Regions from separate parts of the Homo sapiens genome. Here region 2 is linked to region 1. Evidence: promoter capture Hi-C in 16 types of primary human blood cells and fetal thymus (Javierre and others, 2016). All regions are on one chromosome and are shown on one strand. The core of a region is centred on a gene start or on the middle of the fragment in contact, and the rest is flanking DNA. Distances in the headings are between cores, read along the strand shown. Region 1 holds the start of YTHDC1 (YTH N6-methyladenosine RNA binding protein C1). Region 2 overlaps RCHY1 (ring finger and CHY zinc finger domain containing 1).

What was found. Contacts are between HindIII fragments. The CHiCAGO score rates a contact against its expected background, and 5 or more counts as called.
Region 2: a fragment that was not itself captured here is called in contact with the fragment with the promoter of YTHDC1 in region 1 in 1 of 17 cell types (monocytes); the score reaches 6.0 in monocytes.

Annotation. Positions count from the first base shown.
Region 1 is chr4:68,347,350-68,353,031 of GRCh38, forward strand. It overlaps YTHDC1 (YTH N6-methyladenosine RNA binding protein C1), which reads right to left and starts at 2,741. Exons shown (of 17, transcript NM_001031732.4): 1 at 2,377-2,741. The coding sequence starts at 2,404. RefSeq lists an enhancer at 2,110-2,689. The HindIII fragment of the contact is 7,711 bases long and covers 1-5,632 here.
Region 2 is chr4:75,494,573-75,499,808 of GRCh38, forward strand. All of the region lies in intron 3 of RCHY1 (ring finger and CHY zinc finger domain containing 1), which reads right to left. Among named protein-coding and RNA genes, the nearest start is that of RCHY1, 17 kb to the right of the region's middle. The HindIII fragment of the contact is 4,911 bases long and covers 1-4,383 here.

The DNA of each region.
Region 1 (5,682 bases), core at 1,491-3,990:
AATATTAGTTAACACCAACATTGCAACACCTTTCAAATCCAGTTTCTTGGGCAAATTATCACCACAGGAATCACAGGGAGCTAGCAATCTGTCCACTTATATGGGCTGCAGCTTCTAGGTATGAGTATTATTGAAGCATTGTTATAGATTATAGAAATTCATGTCTTTATTACCCAGATAAGTGCAAAACCCCATCAAGAACTCTATGAACAAGGGTCTTTACTGTTCTGTGATTAATATAATTGCCAATTTCTGCAACTTATAGACTCATTTGCTATCAAGATCTTAAACCATTTATGGAATCATTTGAGAAAGAACTTAACGTTTGTGACATGACTGAGATTTTTAGAGGGTTTATCCTTATAATTTCCTGTTTCATGTAAGACAATAAAGCGCTTAAGAGTCCCACTTTTCCTTAAGAGAGGAAGACCTAAGTATTGATTCTAACTATAAAGCTAAGTGTGTGATGATGATCATCAAGTAAATGATACAACCTGTAGGTTACCTAGAACTCTCCCAAAACGAAATAAACAATTCCAGTAGGTAAGTGCTAGTTCTCCGTGTAGTCCAGAAACAATCTTTGTTCTAAACTATAAAGATAAAGCACTTACATCAAGTTTTTAAATAAAGTTATGAAAATTAAATAAAAAAAACTAAGCAAATGTGAGGCAAAGAACCTTTTCAAAAGTGGGGAAATGTATCCTATGTATAGACAACAGGTGATATCACTACTTCCCAGTAATAGCTACACAGTTTATGTATTTGGACTGCATTATCATCACTAAATCATTTCTAAAGCAAAACTTTTAAAATCATCTACTTTTCTTCTTCAATGTGCATTACTGCGTCTACTCTATTAACGACTTGTAAATATTTTCATCTTAGACAACGAATTCTTGAGAAGTACTGAATTTTACTCATTTTTGTGTTTGGTTCATTTCGCCCACCACAACCACTACAGACTCCCATATCCACAGTTCATAAATTAGAAAGACAATCAGATGTTTGCTGAATACTTACTAATTAAGATCATGTATTTTAATAACTGAGTTAACTAATTAAAAGCATTTTCCTTTACTCACTAACACCATACAATCCTATGTTCCCATTACTTCTGGATTTCTCAAAAAAAAAAAAAAAAAAGGCCCAGGGAGATTTTTTAGCATTTAGTTTAAGGATGGAACATTAAACTGCTATAACCTAATCAAAGAACTACTTTAGGATAAGGGCAGTATCTTAAAAGTATTCCCACCCATTCCACTTTCCCAGCTTGTCCCTAACCTAGGGCAGTTCATTGAAGCATGAAGACTCTCCTGATGCAGAAACCAGAAAAATTAAGAAAAAAGGATTACACGCCTAATGTAACTTGACTCTAGAGCCCACTTAACAACCCCCGACAAAAAAACCCCAAATCAATTAGGCACACAGAAGAGATGTGTGAGACACAGAGCAGCGACCGTGTCATATTTTTAACTATAATCTTTCCAAGACTATTATGTTAATCTTAGGGTTGAAAAAGATCTTAAAGCAGCATTTAATCTAGACCACTCTCCAGAGAGACACTGATCTAGGACCTACATTAATATCTCTAGGGCTTGGGAACTTAGTATTACTATCTTTCCATTACAGCAACGTCAGTTCTCTCTACATTTCACTGAAATTTATCCCTCCAACTCTCTGTAACTTGCATTCATTTGTTTCTGACTGTACCCTCTGGGAGCTACACACGGTTTTTCTAACATAATAGCACCCAGGATTTCTTTGCCAGCCTAAGTCACACAGTCATCTTTCCAAACTAAGTATTCCTTTTTCCAAGTACTATGTTTTTCCAAAATAAGTATTCGAGGAACAAAACGGGTAATTCACTTTGCCTATTTAACAGGAACAGCCAGAAGTTATTTGCAGATATTTCTCAAGATTAATAACCTGCCAGTGCCACTTCCTAAACTTGCTCACTTACCACACCACCAGTGTTGATCGCGGCATTAGGGGTTTTCAAATTTTAGCCTAACAGAAATGGTTGTCCTGAAAATACGCGTTACATCCGCATGATCCTACCAGGAAATAAACCTAGGAGCTTGCAACTCAGAAAGGGCCCCTCTCAGCCCAAGACAGCTAAACGGAAAGTCAAGCGTGAAATCCGCATCAAAGAAAAACCCTACTGAGATGAAGTGCTAGGCCATATGGAGACTGAGGACGAAAGGGCAGGCCTGGTCTCCGCCAGAGTCTAAGTGTCTCGGTGGGGGCCACCGGCTCCTCGCGAGGCCAGCTAACCTCCCCAACCCCCACCCCCCACCCCCAACGACGACCACTGCTCCATCACCCCACTCCCGGGCCCCAGCCTCGCCTCGGCCCGTCATCTTTCTCCGCACTAACCTTTCTCCTCCCGACTGTCAGCCGCCATGGCTCCCCTTCGGTTTCCGCCGCTGCCACCGCCGCCGCCGCTTAGACGCGACTCGCGCGGGCGCCGCAGCCGCGGCAGAAGCACGGGCCCGTCCGTCAGTCCGTCTGCCCGGATACGCGCGTCGCACTTGGCCTCTTAACACTCAGCCTTCTCGACTCTTCCCGCTTTTTCCCTTTCTCCCTTCCTTTCACTCCAGCATCCAGCGGCCTAGGCCCAGCCTTCTCGTTAGGGCTCAGACTCGGGCTAGGTATGGGGGAGGGAAGGGAAACAGATGGCGACGGCGGGCGGCGCTAAAATGGAGCCTGCTTCCTGCGCGAAACAATCCCGCTCCCGAAATGCCCTGCGCTGTTTACGCTTCGTTCCTCTCTGGGAACGTCACAGTGCGGAGAGGGGCGGGGAGGCGGGGACGTGCAAAGGAACGTGACGTGACGTCAGCGCGTCGCCCTGCCGCCCTCAGCCCACTGGTACCTGGAAGGAGTCTTATTCAGGGATTAGGTTACCCAGGTTGTTCATGGAGTTCCCGCTGTACGGCCTATAACTGGATGGCGCAATTTTCCCACCTGAAACTCTTAGTGCAGGGCCTAACAGGCCTTCTTAGCTAGAGTCGCTCTAAAGGACTCCTGATTCAGTTCGGGTAATCGGAGTCTTATTTAGGACAAGTCTGGGTGAATCCCTTATGTTTACCAGATGTACTTTCTTAGTTGGAGTTCCACTCTTACCCAAAGGCAGTGCAGCATGCAACCAGCTTGTTTGTAGTCACAAAAGCCTGCTAGTTTTTGTTTGTTTTGAGACGGAGTCTCGCTCTGTCGCTAGGTTGGAGTGCAGCAGCGCGATCTCGGCTCACCGCAACCTCCGCCTCCCAGGTTCAAGCGATTCTCCTGGCTCTGCCTCCTGAGTAGCTGGGACTACAGGCGCCCGCCACCACGCCCAGTTAATTTTTTTATTTTTAGTAGAGACGGGATTTCACCATGTTGGCCAGGATGAAGTGCTGGGATTACAGGCGTGAGCTACCACGCCCGGCCTAGTTTTGTTTTTAATTGGGGAAAGAATTGTATCATAATAGGTCTTTGTAATTAATAACTAATTTAAACATGTTATCAAGGCCCTGGGGCACAAAATTGATTTAAGCAGACCATCGAGGAATCGAAACTACAGAATAAATGACCAGTAGATACATAACTACATAGTGTGGTAAAATCTGCAAGAGAAACTTGCTTAAGATTCATTGTCCAACGGAAACAATCTAATTTTGCTTCCTTGAACTATAACTGAGTTATAAGGGAAAGAAAAATCTGAAAAAGGTAACTAAGTAACTTCGTGATATGAAGACAAACTGGCAAACTAACTGCATATTCAGGGAAAGACAAGTAGTCTAGAAGTCTAGAATGTGGTACCTCTTTTTTTTTGAGACGTGGTCTCACTGTGACACAGGCTGGAGTGCAGTGGTGTGATCATGGCTCACTGCAACCTTGGGCTCAAGTGATCCTCCCACCTTAACCTCCCAGGTAGCTGGAACTACAGGCATGCTCCACCACATCCGACACATTTTTTGCATTTTTTGTGGAGATATACCATCTCCGCAAGATGGCTAACACCTAGCCATCTTGCCCAGGCTAGTGTCTAAATCCTGGGCTCCAGCAATCCTCCCACCTCGGCCTCCCAAAGTGCGGGATTACAGGTGTGAAGCCACCAGGAGTGGCCCCATTTCTAGGACCTTAATTGAACACTAATTTGAATATACGAACACGCACACGCCACAAACACACACACACACACACATTAAATAATATCTGATGATCCTGAGGAATTGCTATTTGTATTTTTAGTTTTAATAAGTTTTGCTTTTTAAAGAATTTCTTATAATTTCATGATTCATATGAAAATATTTGCAGGCCAGATGCAGTGGCTCATACCTGTAATCCCAGCACTTCGGGAGGCCCAGGCGGGCGGATCACCTGTGGTCAGGAGTTTGAGACCAGCCTGACCAATATGGTGAAACCCCGTCTCTGCTAAAAATACAAAAATTAGCCAGGCATGATGGCATGCGCCTGTAGTCCCAGCTACTCGGGAGGCTAAGGCAGAATTGCTTGAACCCGGGAGGCGGAGGTTGCAGTGAGCTGAGATTGTGCCACTTTCACCCCAACCAGGACAACAGAGCTAGACTCTGTCTCAAAATAATAATAAGAATAGTAATAAATATTTGCAAATGAAATTATATGGTATCTGGGATTTATCAAACTGGTGGCAGGTGTAGCGAAATGGGTAGGAGAATAGATTAAACAAGTCTACCCATGAGTTAACAATTGTTGAAGCTGGGCGATACATATGTGAAAGGAAAATCTCCCCAACATCACTAAGCCAAAGGAAGAAGTCAAGCTGGTGATTGATGTCTCATGTATCCCTAAAATGTATAAAATGAAGCTGTGCACGACCACCTTGGGCACATGTCATCAGGACAGCTTGAGGCTGTCATGGGCTCTTTCTTAACCTTGGCAAAATAAACTTTCTAAATTGATTGAGACCTGCCTCAGATACCTTTTGATTTCCACATACATTAGTTAATATTATACTCTCTTCTCTACTTTTTTGCATATTTGAGTTTCCTTTAATAATTTTTTGTAAAGAAGAGCATAAGAAAACAGCCAAGTAATTTAGAAGATATCAAAATGCCATTTTCCCTGATTCTACATTTGTCCTATTAGAACTAAGGAGTAATTTTTAATGTAAATAGAATTCCATATTTGCATCTTTGTTATTAAAATAAGTTTATGGGGCCAGCTGCAGTGGCACATGCCTGTAATTCCAGCCCTTTGGGAGGCCAAGGCAGGTGGATCACTTGGGCTCAGGAGTTTTAAGACCAGCTTGGGCAACCTGGCGAAACCACATCTCTGCAGAAAATAAAATAAAAAATAGCTGGTCATGGTGGTGCACACCTGTAGTCCCAACTTCTCTGGGGGCCAAAGTGGGAGGATTGCTTGAGCCGGCGAGGTCAAGGCTGCAGTGAGACATGATTACGCCTCTGCACTCCAGCCTGGGCAACAGAGCTGGACCCTGTCTCAAAAAATAAAATGAAGTAAGTTTATGTTAAACTAAGAGCACAGCTGTAAAAAAATGCGGTTTTTAATTCAGTCATGTTAGTAAATAGGAAAAGTTGTTGAGGTTATAAAGGATGAACTCTAGGTATGTTGAACATTGGTCTGAAGCTATTGTGTAGTGATTAAGAGAGTAAGCTTTGCAGTCATAATGACGTGGGTACAAATTCCAGCTCTGTCTCTCAA
Region 2 (5,236 bases), core at 678-3,177, 7.1 Mb after region 1:
GCATGGATGTATACTAATTTTTTTAAATATTCCCTCAGAAAGATCATAATTTATGATCTTTAGTTGCTACAATGATACAGTAAACATCCTTGTCCAGACATCACTTAGTTCACATGTTGATTATTTTTTACGAGATTCCTAGAAGTGAAACTACTGAGTCAGAAGATGTTGCAACATTAATTGTGATACTGCCAAACTGACCTCCAAATAGACAGTACCAATTTATACTTCCACCAACACTGCATGAGAGTAACCATGTTCCCCACACTTTGGGTAACATGGTTACTTGTATTATAGACAAACAAAAGATGTCATTTTAATTTGCATTTCACAAATAATGAGACAGGGACTGTACATTAATGAACTACTTGGATTTCTCTGTGGATTGTCTGTTCATATGTTCTGTCCATTTTTCTACTGAAGTATTTGTTTTTAACCAATTTACTGGTAAAAAATATATCATGAATATTAGTTATTTATATAATGAATATCAATGTTTTCATTCGCATGTATTATATTTATATATCACCAATATCAATTTTTTATTTGCATATTTTATATTTACTTTTCTGGTCTGTGATTTCTCTTAACTTTGTCATATAGCCATTTTTAATTACTATGTGGTAAAAAGTCATCAATATTTTCCTGTATAGCTTATGCTTTCTGCCTCTTGTTTAGGAAACTTTTGTAACCTATAGATCATAAACAGACTCTCCTATGTATACTTCTAGTACTTACAGCTTTTCATTTTTATATTTTTCTTTAATCCATTTGAAATTTGCTATATATGGCAAAGGTTAGATTGCTACTTGTCCCTAAATTTCTATTCTCCACTTCTTCTACAATGATAGGGTATTTAGCTAGGCACTGAGCTATTCAGAACTGTCCTGAATAAAGACTATTTTCCAACATACCTGGACGTTGGGAACAGAAGAGATACATGAAAATTCTGCATTGTACCCTCAAGAGGAAAAATATGCCTTCCCTTCACCTAACTAGCCTTTCTACAGACCAGAATATGAGGCATTTTAGACTACAGAGACAAGAAAATATCTTATGGGTGACAAGGCAAAAAACAAGAAGAGCCTGAGTTCCTGTTTAGCTACACAACTCAGATTTATTTCCATGAGAAATGAACTTCTGCCTTTCTTGAACCACCATTACTTTGGGTTTCTGTCACAAGATGCTAAATCCATACTCTAATGAATACAGTTTGAAGAGTCAATTTTTGGTTTCCGAATGGATAATCAATTATCTTAATACTACCCTTTCCTGATTTGAAATGTCACTTTTGCCATAAATTCATATGTATAAATATTTGTCTGTGTATATACACACACACATATTTATCTATTCGTCTATTCCTGCACAAACAGCAAACTATTTGAATTACTATAGCTTTATCATGTTTTGATATGTGGAACGGCAATCCACTCTTCGTTGTCCTTCCTTCAAAATTTACTCAGCTATTGTGAATTTTCTCTTACAAATGAACTTTAGAATAGGCTGTCAAACTCCATAAGTAAAATTCTGCAGGGACGTTTCCACTACTGCCAAAGATAGAATAACGGAGATCAGACCTACCCTCCCATCTGAAAAAATAATGACAAAAGACAGAATATATGAAACAGCAGTTTCACTGAACATCAGGCAACAACACAGAGTGATCTGTGAGAGATAAGAAACAAAGTAAGTGAGCCCTAAAATTGCTCATTTATTGCCTAGAGAGTTTTGAGGCCAGGACAGGTTAGAAGAACTAAGGGTGAGCTAGGAAGACATCATGATTGAAATGATGAGCTGAGACAGTCTAGAGAAACCAAGACAGATTCATAGGACAGAGCATCAGATAGGAGAGAGCTGCACAGAGAAACCTCTGAAATATTTAGTAGGATACCCATCAGCACATGGATGTAAGAAAACTACCCAAAGCCAGGGAAACAACCTTCTAAAGAATGAGAACAGTACTACTCACACATGGCTAGGAACAGTGCCTGATCCCATCAAACAGACTGGGGAAACTCATAATTCGCAGGCTCCGGGTGGAGTATTCAGAAGGATATTGCCTCAACAGTGGAGAATAGCCCTGGGATAAGCCCTTCTGTAGATCTACCTAACAAATTAGAAAAGTAAATCCCAGAAAGTCTAAACTGTTTCCAAGTAACTTAACTGCATCCCAAAATAAAGCTCAAGAAGATTTATAGGAATACAAAAATACCCAGCACTAAACATGATAAAAAGAAAAATCACATCTGATATCCAACCCACAATAACCAGGCAACAAAGAGGCAGAAAAACACAACCTAAAATGAGAAGAATAATCAATCAATCAACCCAGAACAGACACAGATGTTAGAATTAATACAGGGCATTAAAAGTTATTATAACTGTATACCATTACATTAAAAAAGTATTAAATATGAAAAATATGTTTAAAGACCCAGATCAAACTTCTAGACATAAAAACTACAATGTCTGAGATTTAAAAATACACTGATGAAACTAATGGCAAGTTTGATATTGCTAACAAAAAGGTTAGTCAACTTGAAGGCACAGTAACAGAAACTATCCGAAATGAAATAGGAAGAAAAGGGAATTTTTTTAAAACGACAGAGCATGAGTAAGCTGTGAGACAACTTCAAGCAACCTAACATACATGTGTTCAGTTGAGCCTAACGCTGCCTCCTACATATTTTAAGATCGTCCTAAAAGGCTTTGCTGTACATAGTTAACTGTAACCTAACTGGATGTGTTTACCTACAGTAACCTACTCTAGTACCAATCAATCACCAAGTTTCATCCAATCACAGGCAGTCCTCGGTTCAAACTGTGTTTAAATAAGGCAAATGCTGAGCTGTAACCAATCCAGCTGTTTCCATACCTTACTCATTTTCTGTCACTTTCCTTTGTCTGTCCATAAATCCTCTCTGACCACATGGCAGAGCCAAGGTTGGTCTGAACCTATTATCATTTTGGAGCTACCCACCTTGCAAATCGTTCTTTGCTCAATTAAACTCTGTTAAGTTTAATTTAAACTCTGTTAAGTTTAATTTAAACTCTGTTAAGTTTAATTTGTCTTAAGTTTTTCTTTTAACACATGCAATTGGAGATCCCTAAGGTAGGAAGCAGGGGAAGGAGGAGGACCGAAAAAACATCTGAAATAGTAATAGCCAAAACTTTCCTGAAATTAATGAAAAAAACTATAAACCAATGGATTCAAAAAGCTCAACAAACCCTAAGCACAAGCAACATGAAGAAAACTATACAATGGAATGTCATAATCTAATTATCAAAACCAGAGACAAAGAAAAAAAATCTTAAAAGCAGCTATTTTGAAAGAAAGAAAAGAAGACGTGCACAGGAGAAAAATAAAAATGACTGGATTACCCCCGGGACAGACTTCACAAACTCAAAATTGGTAAAAGGAAAGAAATAATAAAGAGCAGAGCAGAAAAAAATGAGAGTGAGACTAAAAACACAATACAAAAGACCAATAAAACAAAAGCTGGTGTTTTTGAAAAGATAAAATCAAAAAAAAATGTAATAGACTAAAAAAAAAAAAACCAGAAACAAAAGAGAAGACGTAAGAACTCAGACCACAGAAATACAAAGATAGATACTATTACGAACAACTATTTAACCACAAATTGGAAAACCTAGAATAGATAAATTCCTGGACACATCCAACCTTCTGAGATTGAACCACAAAAAAACCTCAATAAGCCAGTAACAAGTAATGAGACTGAAGCCATGACAAAAAGTTTCACATCAAAGAAAAGCCCACAATCTGATGGCTTCACTGCTGAATTATAGCAAACATTTAAAGAAAGGAAGGAAGGAAGAGAAAGAAAAGAAATCCTAAAATTTATATGGAGCCACAAAAGACCCTGAATAGTCAAAGCAATCCTGAGCAAAAAAAAAAAAAAAAAACATAACTGGAGAGGCTTCACACTACCTAACTTCAAAATATACTACAAAGCTATTGTAATCAAATCAGCATGGTACTGGCATAAAAAGAGACAAGTAGACCAATTATGCAGAACAGAGAATCCACATATAAATGTATGCATTTACGGCTAACTCATATTCAAGAAAGGTGCTAAAAATATACAACAGAAAAAGGACAATCTCTTCAATAAATGGTGCAGAAAAAAACAGGATACCATATGCAGAAGCATGAAACTAGATGCTTCTCTCTCACCGTACACAGAAATCAAATCAAAATGGATTAAAGACTTAAACCTAAGACCTGAAACTATAAAACTAATGAAAGAAAACACTGGGGAAACTCTCCAGGACACTGATCTTGGCAAAGATTTTTTTGTGTAAGATCTCAAAAGCACGCACAACTGAAACAAAAACAGACGGAATTACATCAAGCTAAAAAGCTTCTGCACAGCACAGGGAAACAAACAAGTGAAGAGACAACCCACAGAATGAGAGAAACTATTTGCAAACTATCCACCTGACAAGGAATTAATAACCAAAATATATAAAGAGCTCAGACAACTTAATAACAAAAAAAAAGATTTAAAAATAGTCCAAAGACCTGTACAGTAATTTCTCAAAAGACAAACTAATGGCCAACAGGTATGTGAGAAAATACTCAACATCACTAATCATCAGACAAACAGAAATCAAAACCACAATGAGGTATCATCACACCCCAGTTAGAATGGCTTATATCATAAAAGACAGGGAATAACAGATGCTGGTGAGGATATAGAGAAAGTGGAACCCTTGTATACTACTTGTAGAAATATAAATTAATACAGCCACTGTGGCAATCTGAATGGAGAGTCCTCAAAAAGACTAAACATAGAGCTACCATATGATCCAGCAAGTCCACTAAAAGTACATATCTAAGGGGAAATCAGTACCTCAAAGGGTATCTGCACTCCCATGTTTACTGCAGCACTATTCAAAATAGCTGAAATATGGAAGCAACCTTAGTGTCCATCAGTGGATGAATGGATAAAGAAAATATGGTATATGTACACTACGGAGTATTACTCAGCCATTAAAAAGAATGAAATCCTGTAATTTACAGCAACATGGATAGGATGGAGGTCATTATGTTAAGCGAAACAAGCCAACCACAGAAAGACAAATATCACATGTTCTCAATCATATGTGGGAGCTAAAAACAGGATGTCATGAAGATAGAGTAGGCTGGAAGACACCAGAAGCCTACAAGGGTAGGGAGGATGGGGCAGGGGAGGGGATGAAGAAAAGTTGA